Regions from separate parts of the Homo sapiens genome. Here all the other regions are linked to region 3. Evidence: promoter capture Hi-C in 16 types of primary human blood cells and fetal thymus (Javierre and others, 2016). All regions are on one chromosome and are shown on one strand. Each heading gives the region's core, a stretch centred on a gene start or on the middle of the fragment in contact. The rest is flanking DNA. Distances are from core to core; before and after follow the strand shown. Region 1 has its middle 6.4 kb from the start of CHD3. Region 2 holds the start of LOC124900396 (small nucleolar RNA SNORA69). Region 3 holds the start of HES7 (hes family bHLH transcription factor 7).

Region 1 (4,035 bases), core at 611-3,110, 240 kb before region 3:
AAAGATAGAGGCTGAAACAGTTAAACTCAGGAAAACAGGCAGTAAAAAAGCAGAAATGAAAGAACAGTGCATTGTGTGTAGAAGTTTTATTATCATCTTTTTCAAAGAGACCTGGTTAGAGGTTGTGTCTTTGTCTCCTTCAAAGAGTTATAAAATGTCTCTAAGGTGGCATGTGAGTGGAGCCAGAAGGCTTTAATCAGGAGAAAGCTTTTTAGACTAGGAGGAAGACAAACTTCTTAGGCCTAGGTCGACAACCTAAAGGATCTGGATTCACATGACCTTACAGAATTCATATAGACTAAGTGAGAAAGCAGGGCAGTCCTCTACCTACTCTGTGTGCATGTAAGCTCAGCTTACTGTTACTTATTAACAGTGCCTATATTTATAGGGTACTTTTTAGTACTACCGGTGCTTTCATGCCTTCTCCAATACACATTTCAGTGATGAAGCGACCAACAAAGATGTCTTGCTGGCATCAGACCACTTACCATGCAGAGTAGACTACATTTGGAGAGAGTAAAGCCTTCCTGAGCACTCCTCAAGTACTGGTAGTGAACGCATGCAACCAGTAACTAGTCAATCCAAAAGACACGTGCTTTGGGTAACACTTGGTAGAATCAAAAAGACCAGAGATGGCAAGCCCAGCCAAGTTAGTTAGGAGTACTGACAGACTGACAGAGGAAGGAGCATCCAGAAAAACTGGAAGAAAAGTAGGGAGGAGTACAGCAAAACACAAGCAAAAGCAAGCAAGCAAAAAGACTTGTATATGTGTAGACTTTTCTCTGGAGCAGTATCCAGGAAATGTGAAACAGTGGCTGCTTCTGAGGAGAGGAACTCCGGGACTAGGGGAGAAGGATGGGAGACAGGTTTACTTTTCACAGTACACTTTCTGTACTTTTAAAATGTTGTACCATAAGTATGTACTACCTATTTAGAAGTTAACTGGAAAAAGAAACAAAAGAAGAGAGAAAAGCAAGAAGAGACGTGGACAGCAAGAGCCTGCCAAGCAGACAGCAAAAAGGCAGGAAGGCAGCGAGAGACTGGGAAAATGGCAAAAAGACTGAGACAGGCAGACTGTCTGAGGAACCAGAAAGACAGAAAAAGAGATAACTGAAATAAAGGCAAACGTGAGAGAAGGCAGGGTAGGGGATGTGGCAAGAAGTTAGATAAGACTTTGAGGCAAAGGGGTTACTGAGAGGTTTAGGGGAGAGAGACTATCCTCATTGATGGAAGTTGGCAGAGAAGAAGCAAAGGAAGAAAAAGCTGGTAAGTATGAAGACTAAAGAGAGAAAAGCCTGAAACGGTGGGATAGCAGCAAACAGGGTAGACAGGCAAGAGAGATCTAAAGGGAGGCAAGGGAAAAGGAGGAACTTAACAGGCACAAATAAGAGAAGGAACAAGCAGAAGGGCAAGAGAAGAGGCAAACCAAGATGGGGAGCCGTGGCAGGGCCTGGAAGGTAGACAAACCGAGAGATGCAGGCTAAAAAAGTGATAGAGACAGGCAGGCGGGGAGACAGATGGCTAGAGAGAGAGTGGTGGGCAAACAGCCAGAGAAGCAGACAGACAACCAGAGAGGAAAAAGAGGCTGCCAGCCAGTCAGGGAGGAGCAGACAGGCAGGCAGGCAGACACCATAACAGGAGCAAGCAGGTAAAGAGGCAGAAATAAGGAGAGAAGAAGAAAAATCAAGAGGTCAGGAGAGAGAGAGAGAGAACAGAAAGAGATGCAGACAGGCAAAAGGGAGGATGGATGAGAGGGAGAATAAGGCAAATTAGCAAATCCACATGCAAAGCACACTCAAGAGAGAGAATGATGAGTGTTTGTATAGGGATGCACACGGCCACCTTTAGCCACCCGCACCTGCAGATCATGGCACATGTGGCAAGCAGAGGCTCTCAGTATAGGGAGAGGGCACAGAGGCAGAGAGGCTGCGGCGCACATGATGCGCAGTGTGGCCCACATACACGTGGAGACACTTCCCATACACAGTATGATCCACAGACACACACAGAAGGGGCCAGAAAGAGGGGGAGTCAGGCACACATGAGGAAGAGCCACACACAGTCAGAGACTGGAAGACAGAAGTAAGCAGAAAGAAGACAGAGATGGAAAGTCACGTAGAGGTGACAGAGCCTGAGGGTCCAAGGGATGAGAAGGATAGTCTCAGTTAAAAACAAAGACATAAATAGAGAGAAGCCCACAATATAGAAAGGGGGGGATAACCAGATGAACTAGTAAAGAGGGACAGAGAAAGAAGACAAGAGAGCAAAATCGACAGGAAAACTGGAAAAGGAGGAGGAGTTAGACTTAGTACAGAAATGATGTGGGAACCAAAGCAAGAGAATTCCAAAGGCCAGGTTAAAAAAAAAAGAGATGGAAACCAACACCCAATAAAGTGCATTAGTGTGGGGAGTGGAACATTAATAAAGAACATTTTAGCTTCATAAACAAAAATGTGCGTCATCTTCCCAGTCACTAATACTTTCTGGTTGCTGCCCACCTACCCCTCCCTCTCAGGGTGCTCCTGAGCACCGCCGAAGATGGGTGGCCAGCAGTTACACTGGAGAGGTAGAGGAATAACCCAGAGAGAAATGATTCCACAGGCATGGAATGGGAAGCAAGGGAAGGGGCAAAGGGAGATCAAAGGAATGGGAGGAAGCTAGAGTAAGAAAGGGTCAACAAGAATGAAAGAGGGTAGAACTGAGCTATTTGCCCTCCTTCCTTTGCTCCATTTGGCAAGGATCATTTTCTGTCTAGACCTCTCTGGGCAAATCTCTGTATGAGAAAGCTACTTTGGGACTCCTTTCCAACTGTCCAATTCCTGGTACCACTTTACCATAAACACTGGGGTACAGTTGGAAATCACAGGTCAGAAAGTTAGATGAAAACGCCTGGGTATAACCCCTACCTCTGCTTTTTCTCAGTTCCAGCTCCTTTCTCTTTCACGGTACCTCAGTTGCTTCTACTTTATCGGATAGTGTTGGAGATCATGGAGGGAAGGCAAATATACTGAAACGGAAGAAAAGAGAACATAATTTCACGATCTTCAGATTTGACTCTTTCCTCTTTATCCTAAAAATTTGTTGTTTACCCCCCAAATTAATTTCTCAAGTCAGTTGAATTTTACATTCTAACAATTGGAGGAGGGGAAAGCGAGGGAAAGGGGAAAAGAGTAAAGATAAAATTTATAACAATTATAAATCACTGAAAAGGCTGGGTAAAGGGGAGAATCAAACATGGACTCCTTTGAAAAAAACTCAATCATCGTATCTATTCATATCTCTCCCCCAAAAGTCACTAGGATTTCTATCACTTTTTTTAAAGAAAGCAGAAAAAAATCCAGTCCCGCTTCTCATTTAAAAGATATGTACACAATTAAATGCGTTGTGACTTCAATGAGGTATGTAGAAACAGAGTTATATATAAACATATATTTCATCTTTTTCCTTTTCAATGCCTGAAGGGGAAAAAAACCTTCACATCAAACCACTCCCTTCTGAAGTATTCAAAAAAAAAAAAGCTTTTCTTTAGAGAAGGGAGGTGGGGAGGAAGAGACTAGTAAAGAAAATAAAAAAAATTAAATCTAGTTGGACTAGTATCTAACTAGTTAACCTTTAACAATTTATGCTGATGTCAGACTGAGCATGAGTACTGATTAATGCCCCCCCTCAAATATTTTTTATAAGGGGGGAGTTAGTCACAGCAGCCATTTTTGTTTTATGCAGAAATCCTTCATGCCCCCCCAACACACACACACACACACACACACTTCAGTACACAAGGAAAATATCTCTATTAATCTGTGCACTAATCAGTTATGAAAAAGGAGAAATTTGTGGGTTTCTGGGTAAAGGCTTGGAGATGGGGGTGTAACAGGGAGGAGAATGGGGGGGTGAAAAATGAAATATTAAGCCAGCCATTTTGTTTGAAAAGGGGATTTTCCCCCCTCTCCCTTTCTTTATGGAGGGGGTGGCGGTGCTGGAGGGGGGGTTGTTTTAAAAATAATTTCAAGGCGGCCATCTTAGTGCCTCAGCTCT
Region 2 (3,862 bases), core at 508-3,007, 200 kb after region 3:
ACGGCTGCCAGGAAGACTCAGACCCAAGTAACCTTGGATATGAGCTCCATTAGGGCTTTGTTACAAGCAGGTTTTCAAAGGCAAAAAAGGGGGACAGGGAGTGGGCTGTGGGCTGATACAAAGTTGTTAGGAATTCTCATTGGTTTAAAGGAAGCTCTTTGATTAGTGATTGGCTATATACTGTTAAGCTATAGGGGGTGGGTTATAGTGTCCAGTGTGGCATTACCAGGTTAATTCATAGCTACTTATGGCAAGAGCAAGCCAATGCAAGCAGTTAAAGAGGTGAATACCTAGCTCAAAGGGGGTAATGGGATGTCACTGTTGTCTCATTTTAATTCCTCTCTGGCCCTGATTTTTTTTTTTTTTTTTGTCACAAGATTTGGCTTTGTCACCCAGGCGGGAGTGCAGTGGCACGATCTTGGCTCACTGCAGCCTCGAGCTCCTGGGCTCAAGCGATCCTCCTGCCTCAGCTTCCTGAGTAGCTGGGACCACAGGCAGGAGCCAACACACCCGACTAATTTCTGTATTTTTTGTAGAGACGGCGTTTTGCCATGTTGCCCAGGCTGGTCTGGAACTCCTGGGCTCAAGCGATCCTCTCTATGGGCCTGATAATTTTAAAAGCCTTGCCCCCCTCAGATAAAAAGTTTTTCTTTTCCTACAAGATAAGGCAGATAGTAAAGGGCACGGGCCTCTCTTTGAGCTGGCCTTCTGTGGGCTCCGGGTCAAGATCTTAGTGGCCAACATCGCAGATAAACGGGGGTGGGGGTTGCAATCATGCCCACAAGCAACAGAGGAAAGAGAGGAGCCTCGCCCTCTTCCCCCCACGCCCCGGCCCCCAAGCCTGCTCACTAGCTCTCTCCTCCTCCTTCCACCCGCAAGGAACCCTCCAGCCCACTTCCTGTGATCCTTTCCGGAGCCCTTCAGCCTGGCTGGCTCTCCAGCCATCTCGGAAAGCTTCTCTTTCCTAAACCCTCCATACTCGCAGGTTCAGCTACAGAGGTAACTGCAGGCTCAGGTTCTCCAGGGTGGCCAGCCCACCAGCCCACCGTCCCGGTGCAGCAGTGCCTCTCCAGCGACAGCTCCACCGCGAGCCTGGCGGGCTCCCGACCTTGCTCCCCAGCACGTCGTCTCCAAGCCACGGTCTCACCACCCTCCATCAGCCTCGGGCGACACCAAGGGGAACAGAGCGCTGGAGCTCCTCGAAGTCCTCCCGACCTTAGCGGGGCTCCGTTCATCCTCCCGGACGTGGCCAGGCCCCGCTCTGGCCCCGCGCCCGCCCCTCCCGCGGGGCTGCCCCTGTCTCTCTGCCGGAGACCCGGACTCAGTGAGTGAGCGCAGCGCGGCCATAGGGCTTCCTGCAGCGGGGTCTCAGCACGTCTTCTGGCTGGACTCTGGGGTCTCCTGGCCTGGCTGTGTCTCCTGGTTCTCAGCGCTCGCCTCCCACGCGGGGCGGAGTATGGGAGTGGGCTGCTCCCGCGGAAGAATCCTGGGGAAGTTGAGGCACTGGCTCCCGCTGTTCAGAACACTGCCCGACGTCCCCAGAGCTAGCCACTCCTCCTTCCCACCCACCCGCAGCACTCTCGAGGTCGCAACGGCAGTCACCAGGTCCCGGGGCCTGCGTTCAGCTGCTTGATCCGACTAGGTTTGGCTTCGGACCCGAATGGGTCAGCTCCACGCCCGATGGAGTTTTTCAAGCTGGTGCCTGCACGTGCCCCCGCCGCGGGGCATGAAGCCGTGGGCTGCGCCCAAACTGCCTCACAACCACCGCTGACCCGAAGCCTCTCTCACTCCGTCCACTGTTAGAAACCTGAAGCTGCCCTCTGTGAGAAAGCGTTGGGATTGAATCCAGACTTTTGGGGAACCTTAACAATAAAGAATACAAAATATTGACTAAAAATTGGATTTGAAAGTGACCCTGAGTTGTTGTTGTTGTTTTTGTTTTAGACGGAGTCTCACACTGTCACCCAGTCTAGAGTGCAGTGGCGTGACCTCGGCTCACCGCAACCTTCGCCTCCTGGGTTCAAGCGATTCTCCTGCCTCAGCCTCCCGAGTAGCTGGGACTACAGGCGTGCGCCACCACACTCGGCTAATTTTTTATATTTTTAGTAGAGACGGGGCTTCACCATATGGCCAGGCTGGTTTTGAACCCTTGACCTCATGATCTACCCCCATCGACCTCCCAAAGTGCTGGGATTACAGGGGAGGCACTGCGCCCAGCTACTCTTCCTTGATTTACGACAACCCTTGGTTATTGTGATTGGGTCGAGATGGGTATGTGTCCCAATTTGGATCAATGAGTTCAGAGACAGTTAATTCGAGACCCACCCAAGAGCCACTTGAATGAGCCATTCTCTCTTCCCCTGGACATTGCAGTGTGAGGATATAAGGTTTGGATCAGTGGCTGCCATTTTAGTGCAGTGAGAGGCAGCTTGGAGTTGCTGGGGAGGCCACTGGATACAGCCTGATGAAGGAGCCAACACCACAAAACTGGAAATGGAGAGACAAGGGGAAAGCCAGGTCCTTGTTATCATCACTTGAGTTCCAGGATCAAGTCTCATCTGAAGCTTTTATCTTGATTTTTCAGTTATTTTTGTTTGTTTGTTTGTTTGAGGCAGGATCTCGCACTGTTGCCCAGGCTGGAAGGAAGTGGCACGATCTCGGCCCACTGCAACCCTCTGCCTCCTAGGTTCAAGCTATTCTCATACTTCAGCCTCTCTAGTAGCTGGGACTACAGGCATGCGCCACCATGCCCAGCTAATTTTTTTTTTTTTTTTTTTTTTTTAGATGGAGTCACACTCTGTCACCCAGGCTGGAGTGCAATGGCATGATCTTGGCTCACTGCAACCTCTGCCTCCTGGGTTCAAGTGATTCTGTTGTCTCAGCCTCCTGAGTAGCTGGGATTGCAGGCGCCTGCGATCATGCCCCACTAATTTTTGTATTTTTAGTAGAAATGAAGTTTCACCATGTTGGCCAGGCTGGTCTCAAACTCCTGACCTCAGGCGATCTGCCCGCCTGGGCCTTACAAAGTGCTGGGATTACAGGCACGAGCCACTGAGACCAGCCTGGATTTTTCAGTTCTATAGGTCATTAAATTCCCTTTATCCCTTAAACCAGTTTGAATCTCCTTTCTTTTATTAGCTACAGAGTCCTAACTGATTCAGATAATCCACAATACAATTGTACTCTTAGCTATTCCAGAGAGGCCATTTATCTCACTGGCAGCTCTTCCTCTCCTGTGTGCCTTCCTGTTCAGACTCTGTGGATCACGCAATGAATTCCCAAATGGTAGGATGCAAATCTGAGGTGGGCAGGTCCACCTCAAGTCGGCCTGCTTGTTACAATAGGTAACTTCGCCAAAGTTGCTTCAATTTGGTCCTCATCATGGCTTGCCATTTTATTTAAGACGAGACCAGGCCGGGCGCGGTGGCTCACGCCTGTAATCCCAGCACTTTGGGAGGCCGAGGCGGGTGGATCACTTGAGGTCAGGAGTTCGAGACCAGCCTGACCAGTATGGTGAAATCCCGTCTCTACTAAAAATACAAAAATTAGTTTGGTGTGGTGGCACATGCCTGCAATCCCAGCTCCTTGGGAGGCTGAGGCAGGAGAATCGCTTGAACCCGGGAGGCGGAGTTTGCAGTGAGGCAACATGGCACCACTGCACTCCAGCCTGGGCAACAAGAGTGAAACGCTGTCTCAAAAAAAAAAAAAAAAAAAAAAAAGACTAGATTGGGCATTTAGAATGTCAGAGTGAAAAGCAAGCTGGAATTACAGTGCTTCATTTTGTGAAATACTAAATACCATCATTATGCTGCTGAAAGAAAAGCTGTTTTAATGATTTTTGATTTGTCTTTGTGAGAGTAAA
Region 3 (4,178 bases), core at 443-2,942:
TTCGGGTTCCGGAGGTTCTACAGACGGGAGGGGAGGGCGCAGAGACAGAAAGGGGTGGGGAGAAAGGGGGAAAGTGGCAGGGGGAAGAAGGGAGGGACGGATGCGGGAGCTGGTGGTGCCCCCGATCGCATTTGCGCACTGCCCACAGAACGCGCGACCAAATGCGGAGTGGAGATGACCAAGGAAAGTCCTGGCCCACCCTGAGACGAAACTGTCCAATCCTAGGGGTTGGAACCAATGCCCAACGCGTGAGGAGGAGATTTGAAACCGCAACCCAGGGAATGAAATTAACCACCCGACATAACAGAGGCTGGCTCATCAGAGGCTGGCTGTGGGGGAGGGGGAACCGGACACTTAGAGACCCAAAGGGTGAAACTGACCGACCCCGGGAGCGAAATTTACAGAACCAGGCGTGAAACTTACAGACCCGAGGGGTGGCGAAGAAGATCGCGTTCTGAGAGCGAGTGGGGGTCTGGGATGGAATTCCAAAGGCGGGACTCGGGTGAGGATGCCTTGGGGCCAGGGTTGCCAACCAAGCTTGTGTCCCCACCCCAGTGGGAAGCCCTGGGACGCGGAAACGGGAAGCTTGGGGACCTAGGGCTAGCGGAGGGACTGACCTGGTCCCGGGTCCGCTCCAGCAGCAGCAGCCTCAGCTCTTCCAGGCTGCGGTTGATGCGGTCCCGGCGCCGCTTCTCCACAAGCGGCTTGAGCATCTGCGACCAGCGAGAAAAGGAGAGCGGGCCGACCAGACCGAGACTCAGTGCGGCCGCCCCGGCGTCGGATCCCGCCGCTGGGAGAGCCCGGCTTCCACCCCGGCCACAAGACCCCAGATTGCCTAGGGCCGGCCCCATTCGATCCCTCTCCGCTCCCCCTCCCAATGCCCCTAGATCAGTTTCTGTAGCTCGCCTCCCCGGATCTTCGCATTCTCCTCTCTCAGTCTCGTCCTCCCTCCTCCCCTCTCTGTGTCTCTCCTCCTCTTTTCTCTCTACGTCTCCGTCTGGTGCAGTTTCTCTTTGTCTCAGTGGAGAACTTTGGGGACTCTCTGCGCGCACGCACGTGCGCCGCACGGTGCCGGGCTCAGACCTGGCGGCCCTGAGTATAGAAAGGGAGATACCTAGCGCGACCGCGCCGCCTCTTTTCCCTCAAAACCCTCCAGGCCTTCACCTTCTCCACGGTTCTCCTAAAATCTTCCACCAGTCTGGGGCCTCTGGAACCAACGCCCCGGGACCTTCTGTACAAGACCGCCTTGGGCCAGCCCCGCCCGGCTCACAGCCAGAGTGGAGCAAGTGCCTATCCTCTTCTCTTTTCGTTCCCACCCTCCTCCCTTGGCTCTGCCCTCTAATTGCTTATTTTACTCCAACACCGGCCCCCTCCCCAGGCCACAAGGTGCCGACACCCATTACCGAGGCCCCTAGTCCTATGTTCCCGCCGCCCACTCAGGTCTGGCTCTGACCCCTGTCCCCTTCTTCATATTTTGCAGCTTCCTCTCCAGCTTCTGGCTCCTGGAGTTCTGGAGCACCGCTCCCCTTCCACCCCTGCGTCCCCAGCCTCTCTCCAGACCGACGGCGTCAGGGGCCCAGTCCCCTAGCCAAACCAGGGACCTCTGCTCCCTCCCCTCCCGCCTCTCACCTTGGGGCCGTCCCTATTCTCAGCTCGATCCCGGGTGACCATTGCTCCTCCGGACCCTGTGTGGACCGGTTCCCTGCTCGCCTGGAGCCTTATATTCCGCGGCCCAAGGGTAGGAGGGATAGGACCCGACCCCGCCCCCTTCGACATCCAGATTCTGCCCCTCTAGGACCCGGCACGAGGCTCCCGGAAAGAGGAGGAGTGAAGGGGGGAGGGGAAGGAGAGAAACTGGCCTGGGAGTGCGGGAAGTGAGGGGTGAATGGGGGCACTGGCTGGTTTACAGACCGTAAGGCTGTATAAGGAGGCGGGACCCAGCTGAAAGGAGGAGGCTATTGGGGCAGAGCTCGCTTGGGGATGAAATTCAGAGTTCCTCCAGAATTGCAGCTTTCTGGGAGGCTTACTGTACCCTCACTAACCCTGAAATAGAAGTTAGCACCTCTCAGCCCCCAGGCTGAATTTTATACATCATCTCCGAAGTTCGCTTCCTAGTCGAGACAGGGAGCAACCCGAGTGCGCTGGGTGAATCTGTCCGACTCAACCGAAGCTCTGCCGGGAGGTTGGAGAGGCGCTCTCTTCTATCTAAGCCAGTTACATTCAAGTCCGCGAACATCTGCGCGCCCACTCTGCGGACAGGGCACTTGTCTAGGCTCGGGCGAGTCATAGTGAGATACGCAGGAGAGACCCAGCTTATCCCTGCAGGATCTAATGGAAAAGACCATGTGACACCAAGTAGCTATTACAGAAGCCCAGTGAAGTAGGTGCTCCGGGAAAAGGTCTCCTTAAGGATGGCTGGACTGAGGAGGATCTTCAAGGCAGAGGGAGCAAGTCTTTGAAACATAGGTATGAGTGGAGAGGTCTTTCCACTTACAGTACAAGTATTTGATTCAAAACTAGTCATAGGAGATTCAGGAGTGTGGCTGATAGGACACCTCACGCAAGTGTGCCCGCATTGCTTGCTTCTGGAGGCCCCTGGTGACTGTAGGGTAGCAGGGAGCAGGCAGTTTACTAAGGGGAAAGCAAGGGGTACAAAAAAGGGATCAACACCCACCTCAAACCAAGAGCATGACCCTCCGCAGAACGATGCCTGACCACTCGAGGGCTTCAGGACAAAGTGTCTGAGAAGATAAATCAGAAACTGAAGGGAACAGCCAGGTTGCCAGGGATAAAGACACGGAAAGACAGGGTTGCAGACCGAGACGGAAGACAGCTGTGAAATCAGAGACCAATGGGGTTTCCTTCAAGCCCTCCCAACGGCCCTCCGCACCTTGGTTTTGTCACGAAGCCTTTCTTGCCATCATAGCCCGAGCCGGGAGAGGCACAGACCTTGAGGAGGGGGCTCCCATTTGGGATCAGGGCCCCCAGCACATCCCACCTCTCCGTCCTTCAGCCAAATGGGAACGCAAATGTGTGTCCCCATCAGCCCCCGCCGCCCCCCTCCTTGGGAACCTGGGCTCGGGCTGAATTTTTCTCACCTGCACGCGAGGCTGGGGGCCCCCGGCTGTTCGCACCCGGGTGTGGGGCCGCCCCTGGCCATATGGGGCGGCTTTATGGCCCGGTGGCCGGATCCGGACGAGAGGAAGGATGACTTGGCGCTCCACCCACGGCAACCATTCGGGACCACTTCCCTGGCCTACACCGTTGCCTGTCCGGGTCCGCCTCAACCTCTTACAATCTCAGATAGGATCCCCGCAGAATCTTTAAGCCGCGCATTGGTGGTTCAGTGGTAGAATTCTCGCCTGCCACGCGGGAGGCCCGGGTTCGATTCCCGGCCAATGCACGAGTACAGTTTTCTTTTCTCCCCTCCAAAAAAAGGATAATATATTTGGTAGCATTTCTAAGAAACATCTTCACTTAAATATTTCTACCAAATATTAATCTTAACCTTTTGACTATAGCAGAGTTTGCAGCCCCAGGCCTAAACGATTCCGCACGCCCTCGCACTCCCCTCCTCCCAGCATGGGGGTCCTGCAGCCTCCACACCCCCCTCCCTCCGTCCCCGGCCCGCACCTCCGCAGGCGTGACCCTGAGAAAGGACACAGTGCTCGGATCTCGGCCCCCCGCGGGGGAAGGGCCAGGTCTCCCCGCCCCCCACTCTACATCCCTTGTTCTTTCCACCTCTCTTCCTCTGTTATTTTCCGTTCTCTCTGAAGCACGCTTTCTTTTCTTAAGTCTATGGGTCTATGCCTTTTTTGTCTCGCCTCCTTTCCGGGTCTCTGAGTGTCTCTTAGCTCCTCCATCTCTGTATCTCTCACGTTTTTTCCAGATCTTCAGCGACTTCTGCCCTGGGTCTCTCTGGTGTTGGTGGTCTCCTCCCTCCGCATCTCTGATTCCGCGTCTCTCCGCGTCTTGGCGTCTGCATCTCCGCCTCTGGCTCTCTCGGGTCTCTGGTATCTCGTCGTCTCTCCGAGTCTCTGTCGCCTCCCGGGACTCTGCGCTCCCACGCTCCTGCCATCCCCTGGGAAGCTCGCTGACACTTCCAGGTTCCTGCCACCTCCCCTCCCCGCCCCTTCCCGGCCGCTTTGATCCCGCACGCGTCGGCCCGAGGGCGGGCG

The links. The method cuts DNA at HindIII sites, captures the fragments that hold promoters and counts their contacts. A CHiCAGO score of 5 or more calls a contact.
Region 1: a fragment that was not itself captured here is called in contact with the fragment with the promoter of HES7 in region 3 in 1 of 17 cell types (monocytes); the score reaches 5.6 in monocytes.
Region 2: a contact is called between a fragment that was not itself captured here and the fragment with the promoter of HES7 in region 3, in 2 of 17 cell types (erythroblasts and megakaryocytes). The highest score is 5.7, in erythroblasts.

What each region holds. Positions count from the first base shown.
Region 1 is chr17:7,880,329-7,884,363 of GRCh38, forward strand. It overlaps a transcript of NAA38 not described here. Among named protein-coding and RNA genes, the nearest start is that of CHD3, 6.4 kb to the right of the region's middle. The HindIII fragment of the contact is 3,311 bases long and covers 206-3,516 here.
Region 2 is chr17:8,325,832-8,329,693 of GRCh38, forward strand. It overlaps LOC124900396 (small nucleolar RNA SNORA69), which reads left to right and starts at 3,752; the gene lies at 3,752-3,862. The HindIII fragment of the contact is 1,610 bases long and covers 953-2,562 here.
Region 3 is chr17:8,122,414-8,126,591 of GRCh38, forward strand. It overlaps HES7 (hes family bHLH transcription factor 7), which reads right to left and starts at 1,693. Exons shown (of 4, transcript NM_001165967.2): 1 at 1,630-1,693; 2 at 618-713; 3 at 1-17. The coding sequence starts at 1,671. It overlaps TRG-GCC2-6 (tRNA-Gly (anticodon GCC) 2-6), which reads left to right and starts at 3,333; the gene lies at 3,333-3,403. RefSeq lists enhancers at 1,551-2,071, 3,348-4,149, 3,962-4,021 and silencers at 3,212-3,261, 3,372-3,421, 4,102-4,178. The HindIII fragment of the contact is 4,110 bases long and covers 584-4,178 here.